5 separate regions of the Homo sapiens genome follow, and regions 2, 3, 4 and 5 are each linked to region 1. The links are contacts of gene promoters, found by promoter capture Hi-C in human tissues and cell types (Jung and others, 2019). All regions are on one chromosome and are shown on one strand. The core of a region is centred on a gene start or on the middle of the fragment in contact, and the rest is flanking DNA. Distances in the headings are between cores, read along the strand shown.

Region 1 (2,700 bases), core at 97-2,596:
AATTTACCATTTATGTGTTAGGAAAATCTGGGTAAAGGGTTTATGAATTTGACAGTTTATGTAGGTCAGTACCTTAAAGTAACCTTTTTTTTTTTTTTTTTTTTTTTTTTGAGACCAGGTCTCACTCTGTCACCCAGGCTGGAATGCCGTGGCACGATCTCGGCTCACTGCAACCTCCGCCTCCCAGGTTCAAGTGATTCTCCTGCCTCAGCCTCCCGAGTAGCTGGGATTACAGGTGCCCGCCACCATGCCCAGCTAATTTTTGTATTTTTAGTAGAGATGTGGTTTCACCATGTTGGCCAGGCTGGTCTCCAACTGGTGACCTCAGGTGATTCACCCGCCTCGGCCTCCCAAAGTGCTGGGATTGCAGGCGTGAGCCACCGCCCCGGGCCCTTAAACTAACTTTACATGAAACTTTCCTGTTGGTGAAAATGCACATCTTGACGGTGGGGGCATTTCCACACTCTGCAGAGGGCACAGGGAAGTATGTTGAGCTCCCAGAGTCAAATCCTTCAGTGTCCCAGTCTCATCACCAGGTTTTGGTTCACTCTGGGGTTCCATTTCAACAGTTAAGAGTGGCTGCCAAGTTTGGGCATATGTTTAGCCTCCTGAATGGGACGTTTGCTGAAGTATGAGGGCAGCAGGCTGCTTATCTGCACTAGTTCAAGTTTTTGCTTTTTTTTTCCTGTTGTATTTTTGTTTTGATTCATTCATTCATTTATTGCTGCCGTGTGATTTCAGTTCTTCCACACATTTGATATTTTAATACCGTTCTTGACTTGTTTTTATTTCCTTGGCTGAAAATGAGCAGATTGAGAGGCAAGGTGAGAGAGGAAGGCTTAACCTTGCCGCCAAGAGTCTCATCCTCAAATCCTGATGCCCGGTGGACATCAGGCCACCCTCCTGCTGCAGTGTGGCCTGTGTGGCCTTGGGCTCCCCTCTGCTCTGAGGCCAGGGGAATGGCTCCACTGGACTGTGAGTCTGGGATTCCCTGCAAAACACTTGTGACTCCTTCTCCAGGAGGAAAAGGCAGTAAGGGCCTGCTGAGTACGGGCAGGTAATTCTGCATAAATGCAAATGTTCCCTGGGAGGGATCAGGACAGCACAGGGAGGAAGCCTGCCCTGTCAAGGGCTGTGCCTGGAACTCGTTCATCCCGCTCGACTCAGCACTGTGTGATCGCTTCTTCTGTCACTCAGTGCCCAGGGGGCGGGACCTGGAGCCCTATCCAATCAGAGCTATGGGGCGGGGTCGTGAGAACTGTCAATCAGGCGCACGGCTGGCAGTAGGGTGCCAGGTTCAAAGAGCCCGCGGCGTCTTCACGCCCCTGCGCTCAGCTCTAGACTCAGTCGCTCGCTGAGAGACGCCCTGGAACGTCTGTGTAGCCTCAGTCGCTGAGAGACGCCCTGGAACGTCTGTGGCAGCCTCTGTCACAGTGGGACCCGCACTGGCAGCGGGAGGCAGAGGGAGGACCCTGGAACATCCCGGAAGCCGGGAAATGGTGCGTGTGCAGGGTCAGGCGTCCCAAAAGTGGGAAAGAGCTGGTTGGAACCGTCCAGAACCGGCCGCGGCGAACGTGGGCCTCCCCCGCCGTCAGCTCCGGGGTCTGGGACCCGAGTCCCCCTGGCGCAGCTCGACCCTCGGTCCCCTCAGCCACAGAGTGAGGCTGAGCTGGCAGCCGGGACCCCGGGCGTCCTATCCGGTCCCTGCGCGGCAACTGCGGTCCCGGCCTCGGAGCCCTGTCTGGGCAGCTCCTCGCCCGCAGCCCCCCATCTCCCCAGGATTGGGGGAGGGTCACGGAAGGGTCATGGAGGGAATCCCCACTCGTGTGTGGGGTTCGTGCCTGTGAGGAGCTGTGATCTGTGGGATCCTCAGTCTCTGTTTTCTTCCTAAAGGGGACCGGTGTCCCTCTGAGTCTTCAAAGGTTTGGGAAGGCAGATGTCTAATGCTTATCTTGTCCCCTCACCCTAACTCCTGGGGCTGGCAGTAAATCCCTAGATTTCCAGATTTTGCCCTGCATTTCATAAAGCTGACTTCCTCTCCGTCACAGGGGAACGACTGCTATCTGGGCCGGTAACGCCGGGGTAAAATAATTTTTACTAAGACAGTTGTAGGTAAAGTTATTAGCGAAAGAAGCAAAATCCATCGCAAGGGAGGCCATGGGAAGCCTGCAGGAGAGAAGCAGAGGCTTGTGGGTGATTTTATAGAATGGAACTTGGGCTGATTGATAGTGCCAAGGCAGCAGAGTGCCAAGGCAGCAGGGAGCTTAACTTGCATTCCTCTGTCAGCCCCGGTGTTTGATAAATTGAGGCGTTTGATGGTGAGCAGGAAGTCTGTGAATTAAGTGCGTTATCTGGGCAAGAAGGCCATGTCTTGGGCCATAAAGAAAGTTAGACATGTACAGGAGTTCCAGACCAGCCTGGCCAAGATGGCGAAACCCCTTCTCTACTAAAAATACAAAAATTAGCCAGACGTGGTGTCACATGCCTGTAATCTCAGCTACTCGAGAGGCTGAGGCAGGAGAATCGCTTGAACCCATGAGGCGGAGGTTGCAGTGAACTGAGATCACGTCACTGCACTCCAGTCTGGGCCGGCGACAGAGAGAGACTCCGTCTCAAAAAAAAAAAAAAAAAGAAAAAAGAAAAAAAACAAAGTTAGACCCGTAACTTACCTGCATTCTCTTTTGTTTAAATTCTCTGCAC
Region 2 (2,723 bases), core at 125-2,624, 520 kb after region 1:
AGGCGTGAGCCACCGCGCCCGGCCCTAAACTCTTTAATTGTTAACGTACCTCAGTTTAATTTTTAACAGAAAAAAGTGGGCACTGGGGACCCCAAAGACCGCTACTCCTCCCACACGAACCTGTCAGAGATGATAAATTACTTTTCTAAAAGCTTTAGTAAGCTGTTCTTTGTTTCTTGAGACCGACTTCCTTGTCTCCTAGCTACCTGTTCTGTAAACAACCTTCCCGCTTTTGCCGCGCCCAGACAAGTCCAGATACGCCTTCCCGCCTAGTAACGGACAGTCCCTGTTCCTTCCCGTCTCATAGACCCTATTTAATTTGTGTGTGTGTGTGTGTGTGTGTGTGTGTGTGTGTGTGTGTGACGGAGTTGCCCAGTTGTCTCGCTCTGTTGCCCAGGCTGGAGTACAGTGGTGCGATCTCGGCTCACTGCAAGCTCCACCTCCCGGGTTCACGCCATTCTCCTGCCTCAGCCTCCCGAGTAGCTGGAACTACAGGCGCCCGCCACCATACCCAGTTAATTTTTTTGTATTTTTAGTGGAGACGGGGTTTCACCGTGTTAGCCAGGGATGGTCTCGATCTCCTGACCTCGCGATCCGCCTGCCTCGGCCTCCCAAAGTGCTGGGGTTACAGGCGTGACCCACCGCGCCTGGCCAGACCCTATTTAATTTTAAACCTTAGCCTATCGAGTTAGTTTAGATTGTGAGGTCCAACCCTAGCCAATGAGGAAAGGACACAGAAGTGCTAGAAACTGCGTTAAGGAGAAAAACCCCTGCCCTACCCCGCTCGCTGTGCTCTTGTGACTGGCGCAAGCTGCACCCTTGTGTAGAAATAAATTTGCTTTGCTGAGGAATTTTCTGCCTAGATGCTGGTTTTCTTTGCGGCACCGGGCACTTGTTTCTAACAAACCCCATATCCGAGGCGGGATCCCCCCATATCCCTCCCGTGGCCCCCGCATAATGTGGGGAGACGCGGAGCTGCCCAGATTAGGCTCCGGAGCCGGGGCCGCAGTCGCCGTGAAGGGACGGGACAGGAGGCCCGGGGTCCCGGCTGCCGGCCCAGCCCCACCCTGCGACCGAGGGGACTCGCGTCCACGACCCCGGAGTCGCCGCGTGGAGGCCCGGGTCCCGCCTCAGCCGGTTCCGGCCGATTCCAGCCCCTCTCCCAGTCGCCCGGACGCCAGCCCCCTCACACACACCATTTCTCGGCTTCCAGGGTGTTCCGGCGTCCTCTGCGTGGCTCCCGCGACTAGTGTAGGTCACAGTGCAGGTTACAGAGCGACAGAAGCTCTGGTGGAGGCACCTAGTCCCTCTCGAAGCAAGAAAGCCGAGATCCTGACCGCTGTCGGCGCAGCACTAAAGGAATGGACGGAGGGCGACTGTCCCTTCCCCCTTCCCCGGATGGACAGTTGACAGGGCCCCGCCCCAGCACCCCTGATTGGATGGGGCGCCAGGCCCCGCCTCCTCCGTGCTGAGTGACAGCAGAAGCCCTGGGTAACCGGGTCCTGCAGATCATGTCTGACTTGTTCTGGCCACAGCGTCTCTGAGCGAGCAGCCTCTCTAAGCGAGCAGCCTCTCTAAGCGAACAGCCTCTCTAAGCGAGCGCCTTCCTTGAGCCCTGGTCATCAGATATTTGCATTTCAAGGCGACTTGCTCCTTATTGTTAGAAGAGGCACTGTTAGCTTCCTCATTCAAGGGGCTGTCCCTGCTCCTTCCTTCTGCACGGGATCACAAGTGTGTGCAGGGCATTTCAGACTCAGTGTTCAATGGAGAGATACGCTTGCCTCAGAGCAGGAGGGGAGCCCAGACCAGGCAAGGCACGACTGCACCAGGAGAGAGAGGCAGATGTCTTCCAGCGTGCGGGAAATGGGATGAGGCATGGCCAAGGCTTCCTCACACTGCTATGGACTCCAGCAAGGTTTTCCTTGTAAGGGAGCTAACCAAGCCAGAACTTATTAAAGATTTAGAGGCTCTCAGTACTATGTATATCTATCCCTGGTGCATTGACAGTGACTGAAGACCCATTTTTCAGGACATGCTGTGTAGGACTGAGCCAGGGAACATGATATAGCATGGCACTTTTATCTCACATATAACCCCCAAGGAGCAGGGTTAACTGAAATGAAAGATGGTCTCAGGGGAAGCTGTAAATGAGAAATTCTGTCATAGAAATTATGATTTAGGCAGGCCGGGCGCGGTGGCTCATGCCTGTAATCCCAGCACTTTGAGAGGCTGAGGCAGGTGGATCACGAGGTCAGGAGTTCAAGACCAGCCTGGCCAACATGGTGAAATCCTATCTCTACTAAAAATACAAAAATTAGCCAGGAATGGTGGCGCATGCCTGTAATCCCAGCTACTTGAAAGGCTGAGGCAGGAGAATTGCTTGAACCGGGAGGCAGAGTTTGCAGTGAGCCAAGATCGTGCCACTGCATTCCAGCCTGAGACACAGTGAGACTCCATCTCAAAAAAAAAAAAATTATGTTTTAGCCATCTTTTTTTGAGACGGGGTCTCACTCTGTCGCCCAAGCTGGAGTGCAGTGGTGCGATGGCTACTCAATGCAGCCTCAACCTCCCAGACTCAAGCAATCCTCCCACCTCAGCCTCCTAAGTAGGTGGGACTACAAGTGCCTGCCACCATGCCTGGCTAGTTTTTTATTTTTGGTAGAGATGAGGTCTCATTCGGTTGTTCAGGTTGATCTCAAACTCCTGAGCTTAAGTGATCCTCC
Region 3 (2,700 bases), core at 111-2,610, 550 kb after region 1:
ATATACACATGGAAGCTCCTGGGAGTTGGTTATGTTTACATGGTGGAAAAAAAACCCTTCAAAATAATTATTAGTTTGAGAAAAATACATCAATAAATAATTTCTACGTCAACACATTGTTTTTTGTTGTTGTTGTTGTCGAGATGGAGTCTCGCACTGTTGTCCAGGCTGGAGTGCAGTGGCGCCATCTCGGCTCACTGCAGGCTCCACCTCCTGGGTTCATACCATTCTCCTGCCTCAGCCTCCCGAGTAGCTGGGACTACAGGCGCCCGCCAACACGCCCAGCTAATTTTTTGTATTTTTAGTAGAGACGAGGTCTCGCCGTGTTAGCCAGGATGGTCTCGATCTCCTGACCTCAGGTGATCCACCCTCCTCGTCCTCCCAAAGTGCTGGGATTACAGGCGTGAGCCACCGCTCCCGGCCTTGTCAACACATGTTATATGTAAAAAAGCTAATCAAATGTGAGCTTCCAACAATTCCCTCTGCTTCATTCTTCTGACTTTCAACAGATCATGGTTAACACCAAGGGCTCTGTGTCTGAGGTTTCACATGTTTACGTCACCTATTTTAAATGGTCTCAACCTCACTCCACCACCACTGACCCATCAAATCATTTCCGCAGCTAAATCCGAAGTATTCTGTAAATAGCTTTCCCTTTCAAGGAGTCTAACTGGACTCAGGTTGAACTCCCTTGTGGCTCTCTCATGTTCCTTGATTTATTCATTTGAAATTGTCTTCCAGAGCCGGGCGCGGTGGCTCATGCCTGTAATCCAAGCACTTTGGGAGGCCGAGGCGGGTGGATCACGAGGTCAGGAGATCGAGACCATCCTGGCTAACACGGTGAAACCCCGTCTCTACTAAAAATACAAAAAATTAGCTGGGCGTGGTGGCGGGCGCCTGTAGTCCCAGCTACTCGGGAGGCTGAGGCAGGAGAATGGTGTGAACCCGGGAGGCGGAGCTTGCAGTGACCCGAGATCACGCCACTGCACTCCAGCCTGGGTGACAAAGCGAGACTCCGTCTCAAAAAAATAAATAAATAAATAGTCTTCCAGGAGAGATTGTGATATACTAAGTGAGGACCTCATCCATTTTATTTGCTTCTCTTCTCCCTAACCTGCTACACTACTTCTTCATTGAAGGCACAGAATATTTTAAACTGACCATCACTTGCTGTAAATTCTGGAGATCTCAGCACAATTCAGAAATCCACACCCTAAAGGAGTTATGTGTGGATGTTAATGCCATCCTCACCACGAGAGGGAGTTCGTTGTCTCTTTTTCTGCAAATCGGTGCAAAGCAGTTTTTTTTTTCTTTTGAGACGAAGTTTCGCTCTTGTTGCCCAGGCTGGAGCGCAATGGTGCGATCTCGGCTCACTGCAACCGCTGCCTCCCGGGTTCAAGCGATTCTCCTGCCTCAGCCTCCCGAGTAGCTGGGATTACAGGCGCCTGCCACCACGCCCGGCTAATTTTTGTATATTTAGTAGAGACGGGATTTCACCATGTTGACCAGGCTGGTCTTGAACTTCTGACCTCAGGTGATCCACCCTCCTCGTCCTCCCAAAGTGCTGGGATTACAGGCGTGAGCCACCGCGCCCGGCTTTCTTTCTTTTTTTTTAAATCTACGGGATAACACTTCATAAAAGTAACAGTGACACTATTCAGTTTGGTTCATTTATATGATTTGACTTTTCATAGGTTGTTAAGAAAGCAGTAAAGTCTGTGAACCTAATCGGATTTCCCTGACTCTGAAAAGTGTATTAAAAAAAATGTATATATGGAAAGGAGTAACTGAGGTGACAGAAAGACTTGCTGAGGAGGTGACATGTGGGATGGGACCTGAAGTAATGTATTAGTATAAAAAGTCAGGTCAGAGGATTCAAGGAAGATGGCAGAATAAAAAGCATGAAGAATCTGTATCCCCCACCTGGATTTGCATTGGCAGAATCCAACTCATGTAGCTATTTTGAAACTGCGGATACTATTAAAAGCTTGCAGCTTCCAGGGAAATAATTGGCTAATAAAATTGGGTTAATTTCGGTCAATTTCAACTCTTAGTTGAGTCAGCAGCCCTGACTCATTCCCCCTCCTCAGCTCCATGACAGGTAGCTATGCATAAGTTCTAACAGCAGTCTGCATGCAGTTTTGGGGGGCCAGGGTGGACAAAAAGGACCTGTCTTCCAAATATTGGGGATCTGCGCACTGCTTGATAATTGTTGCTTCTGATCACAGAGTTACAGACAAAGAAGTGGTGGTGACTGTTGCTGCTGCATCTCTCTCCATTTTTTGAAGGCCCTTCCCCTCCATCTGAAGTGACTTCCAGGCTGGTGCCTTTTATTTTTCCCTTAATGCTTTTATTCCTCTCCTTTTGAGAGCCACTGAAGATTAGGTTGTGCAAAAATAACCATACATGCAGAGAAAATTAGACAGTTACCACACATGCCCAGGGACAGGTGCAACTAAGAAAAGACCTGAGAAGAACTTAAGTTTACACCTTAGGCTGTTCCTCAGCCCACAGACACCTGACAATAGTGTTATTTTAAAACTATCTTATATATTTTCTTTTATTGATACATATTTTACATATATATAAGGTACACATGAGCATTTCTTGCATGCATAGAATGTGTAATGGTCAAGTCAGCGTATTTGGGGTATCCATGATCTTGAGTATTTACCACTTCTATGTGTTGGTAACATTTCA
Region 4 (2,797 bases), core at 3-2,502, 750 kb after region 1:
GACTACAGATACACCCCACCATGCCTGGATAATTTTTTTAAACTTTTTGTAGAGACAGAGTCTTGCTATGTTGGCCAGGCTGGTCTTGAACTCCTAGGCTCAAGTGATCCTCCAACCGCAGCTTCCCAAAGTGTTGGGATTACAGGCATGAGTCACTGCACCTGGCCTCCATCCCTATTTAAAACAAAAAAAGAAAAAAGAAAGAAAGAAAACCAAACCAAACCAAAAAAAAACGTTGTCACGGATGACCTTGGCCGGAGGGTAAGCAGTTGGTGGTGCAGGAGGCATTGCTGACGATCATGAGGTTTTTGTATCTCTCATGGTTCATGTCCATCACAAACATGGGGGCATGGGCAGAGGGGGCAGAGATGGTGATCCCTTTGGCTGCCCATCCTAAGCGAGCCCCAGCCTTCCCCATGGTCGTGAAGATGCTGCTGGTGGACTCCATGACATAACCAGTGCCAGCATCGTCACCCAATTTGATTTTGCTGGGATCTGGCTTCTAGAAGATGGGGATGAGATTCCCATTTCCTATTGATGACAAGCTTCCCTTCTCTTTCTCAGTCTTTTCTTTTCTTTTTTTTTTTTTTTAAGAGAGAGAGGATCTCCCTATGTTGCCTAGGCTGGTCCTGAACTCCTGGTCTCAAGTGATCCTCCCACCTCAACCTCCTAAGTAGCTGAGATTACAAGCATGAGCCACCACACCCAGCCCACTTCTCAGCTTTGATGGTGCCGCGGAACTTGCCGTGGGTAGAATCATATTGGAACATGTAGACCATGTAGTTGAGGTCAATGAAGGGGTCATTGAGGTGACAACATCCATTCTGCCAGAGTTAAAAGCAGCTCTGGTGCCCTGGTGACCAGGCACCCAATATGGCCAAATCCATTTACTCCTGTCTTCACTTTCACCACGGTGTCTCGGGGACATGCCTTTTTCACTGCATGAAAAGATGTGGCTGTCTGTCAAATGGGAGGAGCAGAGAGGCTCTGCCTTTTTAATCTTTAAGAAAAAAAATTCAGGCTGGGCATGGTGGCTCACGCCTGTAATCCCAGCACCTTGGGAGGCCAAGGCAGGCGGATCACAAGGTCAGGAGATCCAGACCATCCTTACTAACATGGTGAAACCCCGTCTCTACTAAAAAATACAAAAAATTAGCTGGGCGTGGTGGCGGGCACCTGTAGTCCCAGCTACTTGGGAGGCTGAGGCAGGAGAATGGCGTGAACCCGGGAGGCGGAGCTTGCAGTGAGCCAAGATCGCGCCACTGCACTCCAGCCTGGGTGATGGAGCAAGACTCTGTCTCAAATAATAATAATAATAATAATTTAGATGGGGTCTCACTGTGTCACCCAGGCTTGTCTCAAACTCCTGGGCTCCAGTGATCCACCCACCTCAACCTCCCAAAGTGCTGGGATTACAGGTGTGAGCCACCACACCCGGCCTATTATTATTATTTGAGACAGTCTTGCTCTTGTCGCCCAGGCTGGAGTGCAGTGGCACGATCTTGGCTCACTGCAACCTCTGCTTCCCGGGTTCAAGCGATTCTCCTGCCTCAGCCTCCCGAGTAGCTGGGATTACAGGTGGCTGCCACCACGCCCAGCTAATTTTTTTTGTATTTTTAGTAGAGATGGGGTTTCACCTTGTTGGTCAGGCTGGTCTCAAACACCTGACCTCAGGTGATCCGCCCACCTCAGCCTCCCAAAGTGCTGGGATTACAGGCGTGAGCCACTGCTCCTGGCCCTGTCTTTTAATTTTTAAAGGGTAGGGGGCACCATGACCCATCTTTGCCCACCTAAACCACCTATTCAGCAGCCCATGCCCCGCAGCCCACAGCTGGGGGACATCATGCAAAATCTAAGTCAGATCTGTCCCTCTGATCAGAACCCTCTGTGGCTCCCACCTTACCCAGATAAAAGCCCCCTTCCCTGCAGCCCCCAAGAGCACACGCAACCTGCCCCACCCACACCCTTCTCTGTTCCTTGCCCTTGACCTTGCAGACTCAACCTTCCGGATTCACTTCCCCCTTGCTCACTCTGCTCCAGCCACAAAAGCCAATTTTTGGTTCCTCAAATCAAACTAACTCATGACAGCATTTTGAATTTTGAAGCCTTGGGGCCCCGAAAAAGTCCATCTTTTTTTTTTTTTTTTAAGATCGAGTCTCACTGTGTTGCCCAGGCTGGAGTGCGGTGGTGTGATCTCGACTCACTGCAACCTCTGCCTCCCTGGTTCAAGCAATTCTCCGGCCTCAGCCTCCCAAGTAGCTGGGATTACAGGTGCTCGCTGCCATGCCCAGCTAATTTTTTTGTATTTTAGTAGAGAAAGGGTTTCACCTTGTTGCCTAGGCTGATCTTGAACTCCTGAACTCAGGCAATCTGTCTGCCTCAGCCTCCCAAAGTGCTGGGATTACAGGCGTGAGCCACTGCGCCCGGCCCAAAAATCCATCTTTGTGGGTTCCTTTGTAAATGTGTAGTCAATTTAGAAATTTAGAAACACGGTTTCCCTTAAGCCTTTATTTAGTTACAATCACAACTAACATGTTACTTATACACCTGGCAAAGTGAAACATCAAAAAATTAATTCAGGGCCTGGCCTCAGGCCTGTAATCCCAGCACTTTGGGATGCCAAGGCAGACGGATCACTTGAGGTCAGGAGAATCGCTTGAACCTGGGAGACGGAGGTTGGGACGAGCTGAAGATCACACCACTGCGCTCCAGCTTGGGTGACAGAGTGAGTGAGACTCCATCTCAACAAAAAGAAAAAGAAATATCACTTTAAGAGGTCATTGGATGCATATTTGGG
Region 5 (2,700 bases), core at 80-2,579, 570 kb after region 1:
GGGGCTGTGCAGAGTTTCTAGGTGGTTGAAGGTATCACATGGAGAATGGGCTGAATGTGGTAGCTCAGGTTCCCTTCTTTTTTAATATGGCCATCAGTCCCACTCCTGAGATAACTCATTAATTCAGTAAGCCATGAATTCATGAATGGATTAATTTATTTATGAGGTCTGAACCCTTAAGATCTACTCACCTCTTAAAGGCCTCACCTTTCATTAGTGCCACATTGGCGATTATGTTTCAACAAGCATTTTGGAGGGGACAAACATTCAAACCTAGCAGTGAATGGCCGGGCGCGGTGGCTCACTCCTGTAATCCCAGCACTTTGGGAGGCTGAGGTGGGTGGATCACGAGGTCAAGAGATCGAGACCATCCTAGCCAACATGGTGAAACCCTGTCTCTACTAAAAATACAAAAATTAGCTGGGCATGGTGGTGTGCGCCTGTAATCCCAGCCACTCGGGAGGCTGAGGCAGGAGAATCGCTTGAACCCAGGAGGCGGAGGTTGCAGTGAGCCGAGATTGCGCCACTGCACTCCAGCCTGGAGACAGAGCAAGACTCTGTCTCAAAAAAAACAAAAACAAAAACAAAAACAAGCAAAAAACCTAGTAGTGAATGATCAGGTATGCTCCCTCTGCCAAGCATATCACAAAAGTTTGAACTCTCAGAGGGAACATAGGAGTTCAGCAGATACCATATTTTTTACATAGTTTAGGGACACTCATCCTCCATTATCGCTTATGTTGGTGAAGCCCCCTAACTAAATTTAGTTCCTAGATATAGTGAAAGGTTCAACTTTGTGAGCAAGCATTTGTAACAATATGCGGTCTCAGGACAGCTGATGTTAACTCTTCTGCCCATTAGGTAGGAGGACTTTGTCACATCAGGAATTACAAACATCCTGTACACATAGATATTAGGGGTGATCTAGGCAATAAATGTCACTCCTTTAACTCACCAAGGAGTGGCATTTTATAATTCGACTGTTATTTTACCAAACACGTTTAATTCTAGCATTAGAATTGCATTCTGGGAGAAAATGAGTTTAGAAAGAGGGTAAGAGTTGGATTACCGTGTCGTTGCATAAATGTTTGGACACCACAGCATCATGTGACATTTATGTAGTGAGTACAGATTCCCAGTGCTGTCAGTTTCAGCTTTCCTCCTCTGCACGTGTCGGGTGTTTCAGGACTCAGTGGCCTTTGAGGATGTGGCTTTGATCTTTTGCCTGGGAGGAGTGGGCTTTGCTGGGTCCATCATAGAAGAGTCTCTACAGAGATGTGCTACGGGAAACCATCAGGAACCTAGACTGTATAGGTAAGGGGGACATCATGTCTTTACTTAGTCAATTACGAATATTTGTTTCTTCGTCACCAATGCTGTTCAAAGATTTAGAATATAAAAGAAATACGTTTGACCCTTGAACAATGCAGGGATTAGGGGCACCAGCCCTCAATGCAGTCACAAATCTTCAAATAACTTTTTTCTCCCCCGCAACTTGACTACTAATAGCCTACTGTTGACCAGAAACCTTACTGGTAAGATATACATTCAATTAACACATATTTTATATGTCATATGCATTACATATTGTTTTCTCACAATAAACTAAGGCAGAGAAAAATGTTAATCAGAAAATCACAAGGAGAAAAAACTATATTTACTATTTCATTAAGTAGAAGTGGAGCATCATAAATGTTATCATCCTTATTGTCTTCACATTGAGTAGGCTGAATAAGAGGAGGGGTTGGTCTTGCTGTCTCAGTAGTAGCAGAAACTGAAGAAAATTTGTATGTAAGGAGATCTATGCAGTTCAAACCTGTGTTGTTGAAGAGTCAACTGTGGTTTGGTGAATAAATCATCCATAACTGCAGTCTACATAAAATCTTACATTTTTAATATAATTTTATTTTTATTTATTATTATTTTTTTTTTGAGATGGAGTCTTGCTCTGTCACCCAGGCTGGAGTGTAGTGGCACGATCTTGGCTCACTGCAGCTTCTGCCTCCTGGGTTCAACTGATTCTCCTGCCTCAGCCTCCCGAGTAGCTGGGACTACAGGCGCACGCCGCCATGCCCGGCTAATATTTTTTTGTATTTTTTAGTAGAGACGGGGTTTCACTGTGTTGCCCAAGCTTGTCTCGAACTCCTGAGCTCAGACGATCCACCCACCTCGGCCTCCCAAAGTGCTAGGATTACATGCGTGAACCACCGCCCCCGGCCTCAATGTAATTTTATAATAATATATAGTGATTCTTCTGGGTCTACATTTTAGGAATGAAATGGGAAGACCAAAACATTAAAGATTAGTACAAAATTCCCAGAAGAAATCTAAGGTAATTTGCCCTAGGAAGAGAAAGATATGTCTTTGGAATAATTCTTAAAGTGACAGGAAATTTTTCACACCTATAATTCCAGCACTTTGAAAGGGTGGGGGGGTGGGGCGCAGTTCAGGAGGTCGGGAATTCGAGACCAGTCTGGCCAACATAGTGAAACCCTGTCTCTACTAAAGATACAAAAAATTAGCCAGGCGTGGTGGTGTGAACCTGTAGTCCCAGCTACTTAGGAGGCTGAGGCAGGAGAATCGCATGTACCCGGGAGGAGGACGTTGCAGTCAGTCGAGATCATGCCATTGCACTCCAGCTCAGGCGAAAGTGCAAGACTCCGTCTAAAAAAAAAGACAGGAAAATTTTAAAACAAGCAA

What was found. The method cuts DNA at HindIII sites, captures the fragments that hold promoters and counts their contacts. A contact is called where the count stands out against the background at its distance.
Region 2: the fragment with the promoter of ZNF440 here is called in contact with the fragment with the promoter of ZNF563 in region 1 in 1 of the 25 tissues and cell types used here (psoas muscle).
Region 3: a fragment that was not itself captured here is called in contact with the fragment with the promoter of ZNF563 in region 1 in 2 of the 25 tissues and cell types used here (IMR-90 fibroblasts and mesenchymal stem cells).
Region 4: a fragment that was not itself captured here is called in contact with the fragment with the promoter of ZNF563 in region 1 in 1 of the 25 tissues and cell types used here (dorsolateral prefrontal cortex).
Region 5: a fragment that was not itself captured here is called in contact with the fragment with the promoter of ZNF563 in region 1 in 3 of the 25 tissues and cell types used here (aorta, dorsolateral prefrontal cortex and lymphoblastoid cells).

The regions. Positions count from the first base shown.
Region 1 is chr19:12,332,279-12,334,978 of GRCh38, reverse strand. ZNF563 (zinc finger protein 563) reads left to right here and starts at 1,346. Exons shown (of 4, transcript NM_145276.3): 1 at 1,346-1,499. The coding sequence starts at 1,497. RefSeq lists a silencer at 1,113-1,252 and enhancers at 425-1,290, 1,393-1,652, 1,883-1,992. The HindIII fragment of the contact is 22,494 bases long and covers 1-2,700 here.
Region 2 is chr19:11,812,924-11,815,646 of GRCh38, reverse strand. It overlaps ZNF440 (zinc finger protein 440), which reads right to left and starts at 1,374. Exons shown (of 4, transcript NM_152357.3): 1 at 1,197-1,374. The coding sequence starts at 1,199. RefSeq lists silencers at 970-1,039, 1,460-1,539. The HindIII fragment of the contact is 18,958 bases long and covers 1-2,723 here.
Region 3 is chr19:11,783,909-11,786,608 of GRCh38, reverse strand. It overlaps ZNF441 (zinc finger protein 441), which reads right to left. Exons shown (of 4, transcript NM_152355.3): 4 at 2,531-2,700. Among named protein-coding and RNA genes, the nearest start is that of ZNF491, 13 kb to the left of the region's middle. The HindIII fragment of the contact is 7,851 bases long and covers 1-2,700 here.
Region 4 is chr19:11,583,361-11,586,157 of GRCh38, reverse strand. LOC124904638 (a long non-coding RNA gene) reads right to left here. Exons shown (of 2, transcript XR_007067140.1): 2 at 2,494-2,741. It also overlaps the pseudogene GAPDHP76. Among named protein-coding and RNA genes, the nearest start is that of ACP5, 7.1 kb to the right of the region's middle. RefSeq lists enhancers at 2,064-2,123, 2,134-2,273. The HindIII fragment of the contact is 7,524 bases long and covers 1-2,797 here.
Region 5 is chr19:11,758,420-11,761,119 of GRCh38, reverse strand. No RefSeq gene overlaps it. Among named protein-coding and RNA genes, the nearest start is that of ZNF441, 7.2 kb to the left of the region's middle. The HindIII fragment of the contact is 5,499 bases long and covers 1-2,700 here.